2 separate regions of the Homo sapiens genome follow, and region 1 is linked to region 2. Evidence: promoter capture Hi-C in 16 types of primary human blood cells and fetal thymus (Javierre and others, 2016). All regions are on one chromosome and are shown on one strand. Each heading gives the region's core, a stretch centred on a gene start or on the middle of the fragment in contact. The rest is flanking DNA. Distances are from core to core; before and after follow the strand shown. Region 1 overlaps ATG13 (autophagy related 13). Region 2 holds the start of AGBL2 (AGBL carboxypeptidase 2).

Region 1 (6,623 bases), core at 2,097-4,596, 1.1 Mb before region 2:
CTAGGACTGCTAGTCCTTTTCATACCAGTGTTTAAAGTGTTCCTTTATTAGGTATCTCTGGAGTAATCATTACTGCTCACAGGGGCCGGACGCACGGCTGTAATCCCAGCACTTTGAGAGGCTGAGGTGGGTGGTCACTTGAGGTTAGGAGTTCGAGACAAGCCTGACAACATAGCGAAACACTGTCTCTACTAAAAATACAAAAAATTAGCTGGGCAGGGTGGCACGCTCCTGTAATCCCAGCTACTCGGGAGGCTGAGGCATGAGAATCACTTGAACCCAGGAGGCGGAGGTTGCAGGGAACCAAGATCACACCACTGCACTCCAGCCTGGGTGACAGGGCTATACTGTATCTCAAAAAAACCCAAACAAACTAGTGCTGCTCACAGGATGTTGATCATTTAGGAGTGCTTTTGGATACAAATAACTGTAGCTTAGATCTAGAGATGTGGGTGATCTCAGAGGTAGACTTGGCTTTTCCACCTGCTTTTTATACTGTTGTTAGAAGGTTAACAGCGTGATACCATTAAAGAATAGTCTTGACCAGGTGTAGTGACTCACGCCTATAATCCCAGCACTTTGGGAGGCCGAGGCAGGAGGATCACCTGAGGTCAGGAGTTCGAGACCAGCCTGGGCAACATAGTGATACCTTGTCTCTACTAAAAATGTAAAAAATTAGCCAGGTGTGGTGGTTCACATCTGTAGTCCCAGCTACTCAGGAGGCTGAGGGAGGATTGCTTGGGTCCAGAAGGTCAAGGCTTCAGTGAGCCATGATCACACCACTGCACTCCAGCCTGGGTGACAGAGCAAGACTCTGTCTCAAAAAAATACACATTGCCAAGAAAAAGTTTAGCAAATTTTAAGCACTGTATCAGTATTTACATGAATAGTGAACTGCCTGAGTCTCAGCTTCTTGTTAAAGGCCTTAAAGGGTATTTACTTAGCAAGATCTCTTTTACCAACACTTTATTAACATTGTTCCTATATTACTTTATGGCAGGAGTCACTAAACTATGGTCAGCCGACCATCTGCTTGTTTTTATAAAAAAAGTTTTTTTAGGACACAGCCATCCCCTTTGTTTACATATTGTCTATGGCTACTTTTGCAATACAACAGAAAGCTGAGTATTTGTTATAGCCTATACGGCCCACAATCTTAAAATAGTTACCATTTGGTCCTTTACAGAAAGGTTTGCTGATCCCTGCTTTTTTAGTATCTTTTGTCTGTCGTATCTGTAGTACTTTTGTGCTTTGTATTTCAGATATTTACATACATTTCATTTCTTTTCTTTTTTTTTTTTTTTTTGAGGTGGAGTCTTGCTCACCTAGGCTGTGCAGTGGCACGATTTTGGCTCACTGCAACCTCCACCTCCTTGGTTCAAGTGATTGTCGTGCCTCAGCCTTCCAAGTAGCTGGGATTAATAGGCATGCACCACCACGCCTGGCTAATTTTTGTATTTTAATTAGAGATGGGGTTTCACCATGCTGGCCAGGCTGGTCTTGAACTCCTGACCTCAATTGATCCGCCCACCTCGGCCTCCCAGAGTGCTGGGATTACAGGCGTGAGCCACCATGTCCAGCTACATTTCTTTTCTTTCATACAAAACTGTAGTCTGTAAGACCTAGGATTCAGATTTATCCTTATTTCATTCCTAACATCTAACCATGAAGCTTCTTTTTTTTTTTTTTGTTTTTTGAGACGGAGTCTCGCTGTGTTGCCCAGGCTGGAGTACAATGGCACAATCTCGGCTCACTGCAAGCTCCGCCTCCCAGGTTCACGCCATTCTCCTGCCTCAGCCTCCCGAGTAGCTGGGACTACAGGCACCCGCCACCACGCCCGGCTAATTTTTTGTATTTTTAGTAGAGACGGGGTTTCACCATGTTAGCCAGGATGGTCTCGATCTCCTGACCTCATGATCCACCCGCCTCAGACTCCCAAAGTGCTGGGATTACAGGCGTGAGCCACCGCGCCTGGCGAAGCTTCTTCATACATTGTTGGAGCTTAGTATTTATTGAATAAACCCATGTGTATATTTAATTTTAACAATATTACTTGAAAAATATGAAAATAGATTTTAGGTATTTTGAATTCAAACTTTTTGCTAATATAGACTGGCCTGTCCAGGGAGAATCATAGGAAGGTTCCACTGTGTTTATGTTTTTATTTTTTTTTTTCAGAATAGTCTTACCTAGTTCATTATTCCACGGTGGAAAAGATTTCCTGCTTTGTTAAGCCATCTACTTAGAGATTTCTTCATGGCCAGGCACAGTTGGCTCACACCTGTAATCCCAGCACTTTGGGAGGCTGAGGTGGGAGGATTGCTTGAGCCCCGGAGTTTCAGACCAGCCTGGGTCACATGGCAAGACCTCATCACTACTATTTTTAAAATTTTATATATATATATATATATATATATATGTAAAAGAGAGCTTCCCACAACTAAAGACCACTTATCAAACTCTAGTACATTCTGGTCAGGTATGGTGGCTCATGCCTGTGATCCCAGCACTTTGGGAGACTGAAGTGGGAGAATAATTTGAGGCCAGGACCAGGGGCAGTGGCTCACACCTGTAATCCCAGCACTTTGGGAGAATGAGGTGGGAGGATCGCTTGAGTTCAGGAGTTCGATACCAGCCTGGGCAACACACCGAGACCCTGTCTATACTAGAAATAAAAAAACTTAGCTGGGTGTGGTGGCACGTGCCTGTAGTCCCAGCTGCTTAGGAGACTGAGGTGAGAGGATCTCTTGAGCCCAGGAGGTTGAGGCTGCAGTGGGCAGTGGTCATACCACTGCACTCCAGCATGGGCAACACACTGAGACCCTGTCTCAAAAAAAACAGTTGAGGCCAGGAGTTTGCAACCAGCCTGGGCAATAGTTAGACCCTGTCTCTACCAAAAATTATTTTTAAAAAACCCGAAAAACAGGCCAGGCATGGTGGCTTGCACCTGTAATCCCAGCACTTTGGGAGGCTACGGCGGGTGTATCACTTGAGCTCAGGAGTTCAAGACCAGCCTGGGCAATGTGGCGAAACCCTGTCTCTACCAAAAATACAAAAATTAGCCAGGCATGGTAGCGCATACCTGTAGTGCCAGCCATTTGGGAGGCTGAGGCACAAGAATCGCTTGAGTCCAGGAGGTGGAGGTTGCAGTGAGCCAAGATGGTGCCATTGCACTCCAGCCTGAGCGACAGAGCGAGACACTGTCTCAAAAAAAACCAAAAAACAGGTCCGGGCGCAGTGGCTCACGCCTGTAATCCCAGCACTTTGGGAGGCTGAGACGGGCGGATCACGAGATCAGGAGATCGAAACCATCCTGGCTAACACGGCGAAAACCCGTCTCTACTAAAAATACAAAAAATTAGCCGGGCGCGGTGGCGGACACCTGTAGTCCAGCTGCTCGGGAGGCTGAGGCAGGAGAATGGCATGAACCTGGGAGGCGGAGCTTGCAGTGAGCCGAGATTGCACCACTGCACTCCAGCCAGGGCGACAGAGTGAGACTCAGTCTCAAAAAGCAAAACAAACAAACAAAAAAACAGCCGGGCGTGGTGGCATGCGTCTGTAATCCCAGCTACTTGGGAGGCTGAGGTAGGAGAATCGCTTGAACCCAGGAGGCTGGAGGTTGCAGTGAGCCGAGATCATGCCACTGCACTGCAGCCTGGGTGACAGAGCAAGACTCCGTCTCAAACAAAACAAAACAAAACAAAACCAGTGCCTTCTAGTAGCAATCCTAGACCTGTTGGCCACTTTTATTTATATATTCTTTATTTCTCAGTAGGTATAATTTTAAAATACATTTTAGTAGCAGAGAGAAGAAACTTAAATAGCAGTTTCCACTTAATTATTATTTTCCTCATTTCTTTTTTTGAGACAGCGTCTCATCCTTTTGCCCAGGCTGGAATGCAATGGTGCAATCTTGGCTCACTGCAGCGTCAACTTCCTGGGCTTAAGTGATCCTCCCACCTCAGCCTCCCAGTTATCTGGTACTCCAGGCATGCACCATCACACCCGGCAAAATTATTTTTTGTCAATGCAGGGTCTTGCTGTGTTGCCCAGACTGGTCTTGAACTCCTGGCCTCAAGTGATCCTCCCGAAGTGCTGGGATCACAGGCATGAGCCACTGTGCCTGGCCTTATTTTCCTTATTTTTTAACCAACCCACTCTGTACGTCTCCATGCCTGTAGCTTAATTGAAGTAGTAGGAATTACTAATGCTCCATCAGCAGAGGTATTTGAGCAGATGAGTAAGGAAGGCTTTGTTTTATTTTGTTTCTACGTGTTTTGGCTATAGAGGCCCTTAGGAGTAAAGAATCAGGTAACATTTCTTATTTTTTCTTCCATACAGGATATATTTTGGAGAAGTTCAGCTGAGTGGCTTAGGAGAAGGTATGTATCAACGGTTGAAAAACATCGTAGTGTTCAGAGCTCTCCTAACTTCAGAGATGATCTTCGTTTCTACTTGTTATAATATGTAGATTGTCATCTTAATATGCATAATACAAGTAAAGAAAAGATGAGAATGCAGGTAGGTGGTCCAGGTTACCCCTGATCTGCCAGGGTAACCAAATAATTTTTCCCAAAGTTCCAGGAACTCAGTCTTCTTTCTTACTCTTTATAAAACTGTATATTTTCCTAATTTTCTACAGTGAGGATGTTAAATGTTTCTGATGAACAACAAGAATTTTGAAAAATTGGAAATGAAACCAAGAAAATCAGGAAAGCTTTGTTGAAAGTGTCACTTGCAAGGCCTTGGCTCTTTACTTAGCCGTGGAGTGGCAGCTTGGGTGGAAGGCAATTACTTCTTAAACTGAAGTGTTTGTGTGACATTCTAGTGCTCCTTCATTGTCTTTTTTAGCATGTGATGTATCCTTTGCAGGGCTGGTTAGTAGAACTTTCTCAGGCCTTAAAACTAACAGTTATTTTATCTCTTTGAAGGTAGCTTTATCTATAAATAGAGTGCTGTTTCCCTTGCCAATATTGGCTCAATATAGAATACATTGAGAGGGAAGAAACCTATATATACACACACATACACGCACATACACACACACACACACACACATATGAAATTAAGGCTGCTGCACTTAACATGCTAAGTGGATAATGCCAGAGATTACACAATAGGCCAAATAATTCAGGGAAAGACGGTCTGGGGGCAGTGTCAGTATTCTCTGCAAAAGAAGCTAATAATGTATCTCTTCTCCTAGGCTTCCAGACAGTTCGTGTTGGGACAGTGGGCACCCCTGTGGGCACCATCACTCTTTCTTGTGCTTACAGAATTAACTTGGCATTCATGTCTACCAGGTGAGGAAGAGCCCTGGAATCCAAAAGAACTCTTCCGAAAATGTTAAAGTTTTTTTTCTCCTAAACTTTAAGACTAAACCTACAATTCAGCTTTGCTGAAAGCAGTACCTTCAGAAGAATAAAGAGAGAGTGCAGTTGCCAGATTGGAGAATTTGAGTGTCCCAGAGCCAGTTTGTCCAGAACGTAGGATTGGTGGTTTATATTTAGGGATTGTGATAGTTAAAGCTCTGGTAGTGCCTGCCAACAGATGTAAGGTGAGGGGCCCTCTGAGGACTTTGTGGGGGCTGGAAAGGCATTCTAACAAATACTGGAATCTGCTTATTGTATTACAGGCAATTTGAGAGGACCCCACCTATCATGGGGATTATTATTGATCACTTTGTGGACCGTCCCTATCCCAGCTCCTCTCCCATGCACCCCTGCAATTACAGGTGAGGAATGTGAAAAGGTGCTCTCCCAAACTGCAGCTGGGCAGAAGCATCCATCCTGCACAAGCACATGGAACACTTTTCTCAGCACTCACTCTCCAGTGGGCAGGGGGCCACTGATGGAGACCCCACGTGGAGAGAAATCAAATGGGCCAGTTTCCCTTCTTTCTGCTCCCTCTTAGGTACACCAAGACTTAGTATATACAGACTGTCTCAGAAAATTCTTGGGATATTTTGGATCTTGATGTTAGTGATAAGACTTTTCTTGGTGAAACCCCATCTCTACTAAAAATACAAAAATTAGCTGGGCATGCCAGCACATGCCTATAATCCCAGCTACTCAGGAGGCTGAGGCAGGAGAATTGCTTGAACCTGGGAGGCAGAGGTTGCAGTGAGCTGAGATTGCACCACTGCATTCCAGCCTGGGCTACAGAGTGAGACTCCTTCTCAAAAAAAAAAAAAAAGACTTTTCTCAGTTACAAGTTACTTAGAGCCTTAGAAGAGTGGCAGTGATTTGTGGAATATCCTTGACAAATTAATTGGTTTTCAGGTTACCATCTGGCACATTAGTTTCATATCAGAATAAAATGTCTCCAGGTCTAGAACTCAGAAAACAGGGGTTAGACTAGATGTATATCAGGAAGGATAGTACCTTTATGTGATAGACTTGTGAAATTGAATAGGCTTGGCTTTAGGGTTTAGATACTTGTTTCGTGGAGTCTCTACTACTGATAATTCTTTGAAAACCCAGATGTGGCTCCATTACTGGCCTGGCTTAAGAAAATGCTCTCTCAGACCAGGCATGGTGGCTAACACCTATAATCCCGGCACTTTGGGAAGCTGAGATCTGTGGATTGCTCAAGCCCAGGAGTTGGAGATCAGCCCAGGCAATGTG
Region 2 (6,526 bases), core at 1,970-4,469:
TAGTTATGGTGGAAAAGGCATTAAATTTGTGGGTGGAAGATAGAAGTCTGTTCTGAATGACAGTGATTTGGATTTAGTACTATCAGTGGTTTCAGGCCATCCAGGGGCCTTGGAACCTCCCCCCTGTAGATAAGGGGGGACTAATGTAGTTAATAAAAAAGTTTAACAACATTCTTTGATAGAAATAAAATTAATACTAATACAATGAATATTACTCCATCTTATTTCAATATACCAGTAACAAAGTTAGGAAATTAAATTTTAAGAAGATCAATATTTATAATAGCATAAAAATATGAAGTATTATGAAAAACTATAAATCTTTATTGGGAGACATTAAAGACCTAAGTAAATGGAGATAAATATTATAGTCATAGATTGGAGAACCCAGTGTTGAAAAATTGCCAGTTCTTGTGAAATTTGATCTACAGATTTAATGCAATTCCTATAATCTTTTAAAATGTCATAAGCGGGCTGGGGACAGTGGCTCACGCCTGTAATCCCAGCACTTTGGGAGGCCAAGGTGGGTGGATCACCTTAGGTCAGGAGTTCGAGAACAGCCTGGCCAACATGAGGAAACCCTGTGTCTACTAAAAATACCAAAATTAGGCCGAGCGTGGTGGCTCATGCCTGTAATCTTGGCATTTTGGGAGGCTGAGGTGGGTGGATCACCTGAGGTCAGTTCGAGACCAGCCTGGCCAACATGGTGAAACCGTTTCTACTAAAAATACAAAATTAGCCAGGCATGGTGGTACACGCCTGTAATCCCAGCTACCTGGGTACTTGGGAGGCTGAGGCAGGAAAATCGCTTGACCCCGCGAGGTGGAAGTTGCAGCAAGCCTAGATTGCACCACTGCACTCCAGCCTGGGCAACAAGAGCATAACTCCGTCTCAAGAATAAAAAAAACACTGGGCGCGGTAAGCTCACGTCTGTAATCCCACCACTTTGGGAGGCCTAGGCAGGTGGATCACCTGAGGTCAGGAGTTCAAGACCAGCCTGGCCAACATGTTGAAACCCCGTCTCTACTACAAATACACAAAAAAATTAGCTGGGAGTGGTGGTGGGCGCCTGTAATCCCAGCTACTTGGGAGGCTGAGGCAGGAGAATCTCTTGAACCCAGGAGGTGGAGGTCGCAGTGAGCCGAGATTGCGCCATTGCATTTCAGCCTGGGTGAAAAGAGTGAGACTCTATCGCAAAAAAAAAAAAAAAAAGAAAGAAACAAAAATTACCCAGGCGTGGTGGCTCGTGCCTGTAATCCCAGCTACTCAGGAGGCTGAGGCAGGAGAATCTCTTGAACCTGGGAGGCAGAGGTTGCAGTGAGCCGAGATCGTGCCACTGCACTCCAGCCTGGGCGACAGGGTGAGACTTCATCTCAAAATAAATAAAAAATAAAATAAAATGTCATAAGCCAATTGCAAAATTTATTTTTTTAAATTTTTATTTATTTATTTTTTTTGAGACAGAGTCTCACTCTGTCGCCCAGGCTGGAGTGCAGTGGCTTGATCTCGGCTCACTGCAAGCTCCGCCTCCCAGGTTCACGCCATTCTCCTGCCTCAGCCTTCCCAGTAGCTGGGACTACAGGCACCCACCACCACGCCCGGCTAATTTTTTTGTATTTTTAGTAGAGACGGGGTTTCACCGTGTTAGCCAGGATGGTCTCGATCTCCTGACCTCGTGCTCCACCCGTCTCGGCCTCCCAAAGTGCTGTGATTACAGGTGTGAGCCACCGTGCCCGGCCGCCAATTGTAAAATTTATATAGTAAGGCAAAGACTCAAGAACAGCCGTGACACTTCTGAAGAACAAGGTGGGAAGACATGTCTTTCCAGATAAAGACTATTTTAATGCCATATAGTAATTAAGAGACAGTGATACTGGTAAAGGATAGCCAAACAGACCAATGGAATAGAGAGCCCAGAAACAGACCTTTGTATTAAGTGATGCTGTCTACTTGACAGAGGTGACCCGCAGATCAATGGGGAAAGGAAGTACTTTTCACTAATGGTAGAGGAAAAAGTATTTATTTGTCAATGCAAATTATTTATTAGTCTACCCAAGTGCAACCCTCCCAGCTAACGAAGCAATTTTCCTCTTGAGTCCAGGAAAGGTGATACTAGATAAGAACATGGTATTACCTTTAAAGTAGCCATAATATTGGAGGTGACGGTACATAAAGTCTTCATAAGGATCAGGAATAGTCTGTGAAAGGAAAGGCCACTTCAATCAAGATAATGTTTTCAAACCATAATAGACTCAACAAAAAGTACATGAGCGTTGTTGCATAGGACTAGACTAAACCAAGCGAGCTGCATTCCATGCGAATTATTCTATCGTGGGGATCAAGATCTCCAGCTGAGAAAAGATGCCACCAGAACATCCCTTCTCATCTAGTAGCAGATTTCTGTGGAGTTCCCGAAGAAATGGAGTTCCCCGAAGAAATTTCTGTGGCTTTCCGTGTTGTGTACCGACCTGCTTTAGGTGCGTTTCCAAAGCTGGGAACATGTTACTTCTGGATGGTAGGCTGAAAACTAGTCAGTGACATTAGCATCCAGTCGCAAACCCTGCCCAATTTCCAAATAGGCAGCTGATTACACAAGAGAAGCTACAAAGCCACAAGAGGACAAGTGAAAAAACTGCCAATACCTCCCCGGGCGCCCCCCAGCTCCCTCTTGACTTCAGAAAACCCTGCCAACCCAGCTTCTCCTCAGCTAAACAAGGTGGTCACGCCGAGGCCAGAGGTGCATCTGAGACAGGGAGGGCAGCGTATCTTCCCGCTTCTTCTTCCCAAGGTGCTGGCCCCATGCTTCCCTTTCCCTGAGAAAGGAGATGCTCGCCACAGGAAAGTGAAAGAAATGGGTATGGGAGCACGCGACGAAGTCGTCTCGGTAGGTGCCGATGGAAAAAGGTCAGGGGGTTGGGAAAGTGGGCCCTAAAGATTGAATTTAGGGTTCAGAGGAACCTGGTCTGGGGCAGGTGGTGAGGGGGTTTCCTAAGGGTAGGAGCGGGGAAGGAGAGCAGAAACTTCCCAGGAGGGCAGAGCGATGGATGCGACCGCCTTCGCGCCCCGGCCCGTCCCAAGCAGCACGGATGGCTGCGGCAGAGAAGCTCCAGCGAGGCAGGCGGCCACCGCACTTAAGTACAGAGGCCAAGCAGTGTGCGGGCAAGGGGACAAACTCGCTGCACCCGCCCGCCACCGCCTTCTGTGAGGGCCCGGGTAGTCTAGCAACCGAAAGCAGGAAGCGGAGAAAGGGCGGGGCGGTCGGGCGCTTCCGGGGAGCTAGGCCTCGCCCCCAAGGAGGGAGCGGGGACCCCGGGAAGGTCTGCAACATGTATGGCGGGCAGCGGCTTTCTTCCCCTCATACATCACAGCCCCAGCCTCGGAATCGAAACCGCATTGATGAGTACGATGCCAGTAGCCTTCAACATACTTCCAAGCTGGTTTGCTGTTGGCTTTAGATAACTGTTATGCATAATTTGCTCTAAGAGAGCTGCTGCTTCTCTCCTTTCACCTTAACATTCTCTCCACTGCACAGCTAGAAAGGAAAAATTACCTTCTACACTGCAAATCTTAAGAAACAGAGCTAACAAATTCAAATCACACATTTTGATTAGGTTTAAAAAAATCAATTATATGCATAGAAATTTACTCCAGGCCAGGCGCGGTGGCTCTCGCCTGTAATCCCAGAACTTTGGGAGGTCGAGAGTTGGAGACTAGCCTGACCAACATGGAAAAACCCCATCTCTACTAAAAATACAAAATTAGCTGGGTGTGGTGGCGCATGCCTGTAATCCCAGCTACTCGGGAGGCTGAGGCAGGAGAATCACTTGAACCTGGGAGGCGGAGGTTGCGGTGAGCCGAGATCGTGCCATTGCACTCCAGCCTGAGCAACAAGAGCGAAATTCTGTCTCCAGAAAAAAAAAAAACAAAAAACCAACAACAAAAAAATAAATATACTACAATAAAATTCAAACACGTGTCTTTGGTTAACTATATATGAATATAACCGTATCTGTTACTTTTATCAGTGGGGGGAAAAAAGCTATAAAGCACCTTTTTTTCTGAAATGTTAACCATATTACATCATTGCCAGGAATTAAGTAGGTAAAATATTATCTAATATGGCTATTAACCAATCTAGATATTATAGATAATATTAGACCCCAAAACTTTGATCACACAGCACCATCTGGGACTAGAAGCCTGTTTGTCTAAACTGGCCCCACCACTCCCCATTAAAGATCTCCTGCTCATTTTCTTGAAAGCTGTTGTTAAATGTTTGCACCTTGCATTGTATATGCTTAGAAAAAAAAACAAGTCCTGGTTACATAATCAGAATAACAGGAGTTGACGAGCAAAAGGATAACCCATCAGGATTATAAAAAAAGCTTTATTAGTGCATATATACAAATTTACAAGGTCAGAAACTGGAGAAATACAAAGAGCTTTAAAACACAATTTGCCGTTTCCTCAGTTTAAAGTGACTTTTACCTGATTGTGATACAACAGAAAGTACAGAACAGTAAACTGCTTTTTAAATACTGGAATTTTATGGAGAATACATTCACATAAAGAAAGGAGGTGAATTTTGTTTTGGAACAGGGTTAAGACAATGGAGACATTAATACATAGAGTGTCTTGTTGTATTTACTGCCACATACTTGAGGGGAAATTCTCAAAATCAAGGATATGAACACCTGCTGCTGCCTGTATGCCACCTAGTGTGCGAAACGACCGAGCTACCAGTTCTAGAACTTATGAGAACTACTCTAAAGAGTGTGGCCATCTATCAGCACGAGGTAAACCACTTAGACCTCAGCACTTCAGGGGTGGCCGACTAGAGAAAAGAGGCCAGAAAAAGCTTCAGACAATTCCAGTCAAGCAAGGTAGAATGCAGAGCTGCCTTCTGAATTGCACTTGTTCTGGAGGAGAAGTTAATTCTTCACTTTTGTCAGGGAGTCCTCTACAGAAGTGTTATACTCATGAGCCACATGTTCTTCAAGACTGATGAGGTTAATACACCTAACATGCTAAGTTTGCCAGTTTGAGAATAAAGGCAGCATGGTCAAAGCAATTCCAATCACCTCATCCCTTTGCAAAAACAGAAAAATTACATTTCACAAAAGTGAAAACTTTGTATGCATACACTCTTGCCCAGGAAATTTATAAGATCTCCCCCATAACATTTATAGTTTATTTGACAATAAAACTGGTTAAGACTTTGAACTGAACACAAAACAAACAATAATACAAAAAAGTTTTAAAAACTTAAAAACTATGTGTTTGGAGCCATTTTCCTTCTCTTCAGCCTTGCTCTCCAATCCTCAGGAAGGGCTTCAAAATTAGCATTTCTCTCTGCCATGCCACTGTGAAAACAACATACAGATTATTTTAGTGGAAAGAAAAATTAACAAAAGTATTCATTTCCCAGCAAATAAAAATCTAACTGAAATTAAAAACCTGATCTATCACGTCTATGTTTATGAAAATCTTTTGTTTCTCAGCCAAACATCAGTATATTCTTCATCAAACTTCTTCATTCTGATAGGTCAACCAAACACTACCCCAGTTTTACGTATATGTCTAAGTGCATATTTATTTATTTATTATTGACTGATTGAGACGGAATTTTGCTCTTGTTGCCCAGTCTGGAGTGCAATGGTGCGATCTCGGCTCACCGCAACCTCCGCCTCCCAGGTTCAAGCGATTCTCCTGCCTCAGCCTCCCCTCAGAGTAGCTGGGATTACAGGCATGTGCAACCATGCCTGGCTAATTTTTTTTTTTTTTAAGTAGCGACAGGGTTTCTCCATGTTGGTCAGGCTGGTCTCGAACTCCCAACCTCAGGTGATCTGACTGCCTTGGCCTCCCAAAGTGCTGGGATTACAGGTGTGAGCCACCGTGCCCGGCCTTATTTATTTTATATAAATATACCTCCAATAACCATTAAAGGCACACTGAAGAAATGAAACACGTTCTATTAGAGTTTTTCTTAGCCCACAGGAGTTATGATTCTTCAGGGCAGATATATCTAATCCTCAGTCTACCAACAGGGACCCTGGGATCTAATGTTTTTTTTTCTGTTTTTGAGATGGAGTCTTGCTCTGTTGCCCAGACTGGAGTGCAGTGGCACAATCTCGGCTCACTGCAACCTCTGCCTCCTAGGTCCAAGCGATTCTCCTGCCTCAGCCTCCCAAGTGGCTTGGACTACAGGCGCCTGCCACCATGTCCAGCTAATTTTTATATTTTTAGTAAAGACAGGTTTTCACTATGTTGGCCAGGCTGGTCTCGAACTCCTGACCTCGTGATCCACCCACCTCGGCTTCCCAAAGTGCTGGGATTACAGATGTGAGCCCCTGTGCCCGGCCGGATCTAATGTTTTTGAGTTTCTCTTTCAAGTAGTTTTATTTGTAAGGATTAAAATTCAAATTCTATCTTGCAATTAACAGAATGGATGCATTAGAACCTTTAATAAAAACTAAGCTAGAACCTATCAGAGATTAATTTGAAATCTGGCATCAGTAATAGACAG

The links. Contacts are between HindIII fragments. The CHiCAGO score rates a contact against its expected background, and 5 or more counts as called.
Region 1: a contact is called between a fragment that was not itself captured here and the fragment with the promoter of AGBL2 in region 2, in 1 of 17 cell types (monocytes). The highest score is 5.2, in monocytes.

The regions. Positions count from the first base shown.
Region 1 is chr11:46,651,892-46,658,514 of GRCh38, forward strand. It overlaps ATG13 (autophagy related 13), which reads left to right. Exons shown (of 19, transcript NM_001346311.2): 8 at 4,342-4,382; 9 at 5,204-5,300; 10 at 5,633-5,731. Among named protein-coding and RNA genes, the nearest start is that of ATG13, 38 kb to the left of the region's middle. The HindIII fragment of the contact is 2,737 bases long and covers 1,979-4,715 here.
Region 2 is chr11:47,712,150-47,718,675 of GRCh38, forward strand. AGBL2 (AGBL carboxypeptidase 2) reads right to left here and starts at 3,220. Exons shown (of 19, transcript NM_024783.4): 1 at 3,026-3,220; 2 at 2,469-2,601; 3 at 2,135-2,198. The coding sequence starts at 2,501. FNBP4 (formin binding protein 4) reads right to left here. Exons shown (of 17, transcript NM_015308.5): 17 at 4,345-5,363. The coding sequence ends at 5,273. RefSeq lists an enhancer at 2,898-2,957. The HindIII fragment of the contact is 6,151 bases long and covers 1-4,383 here.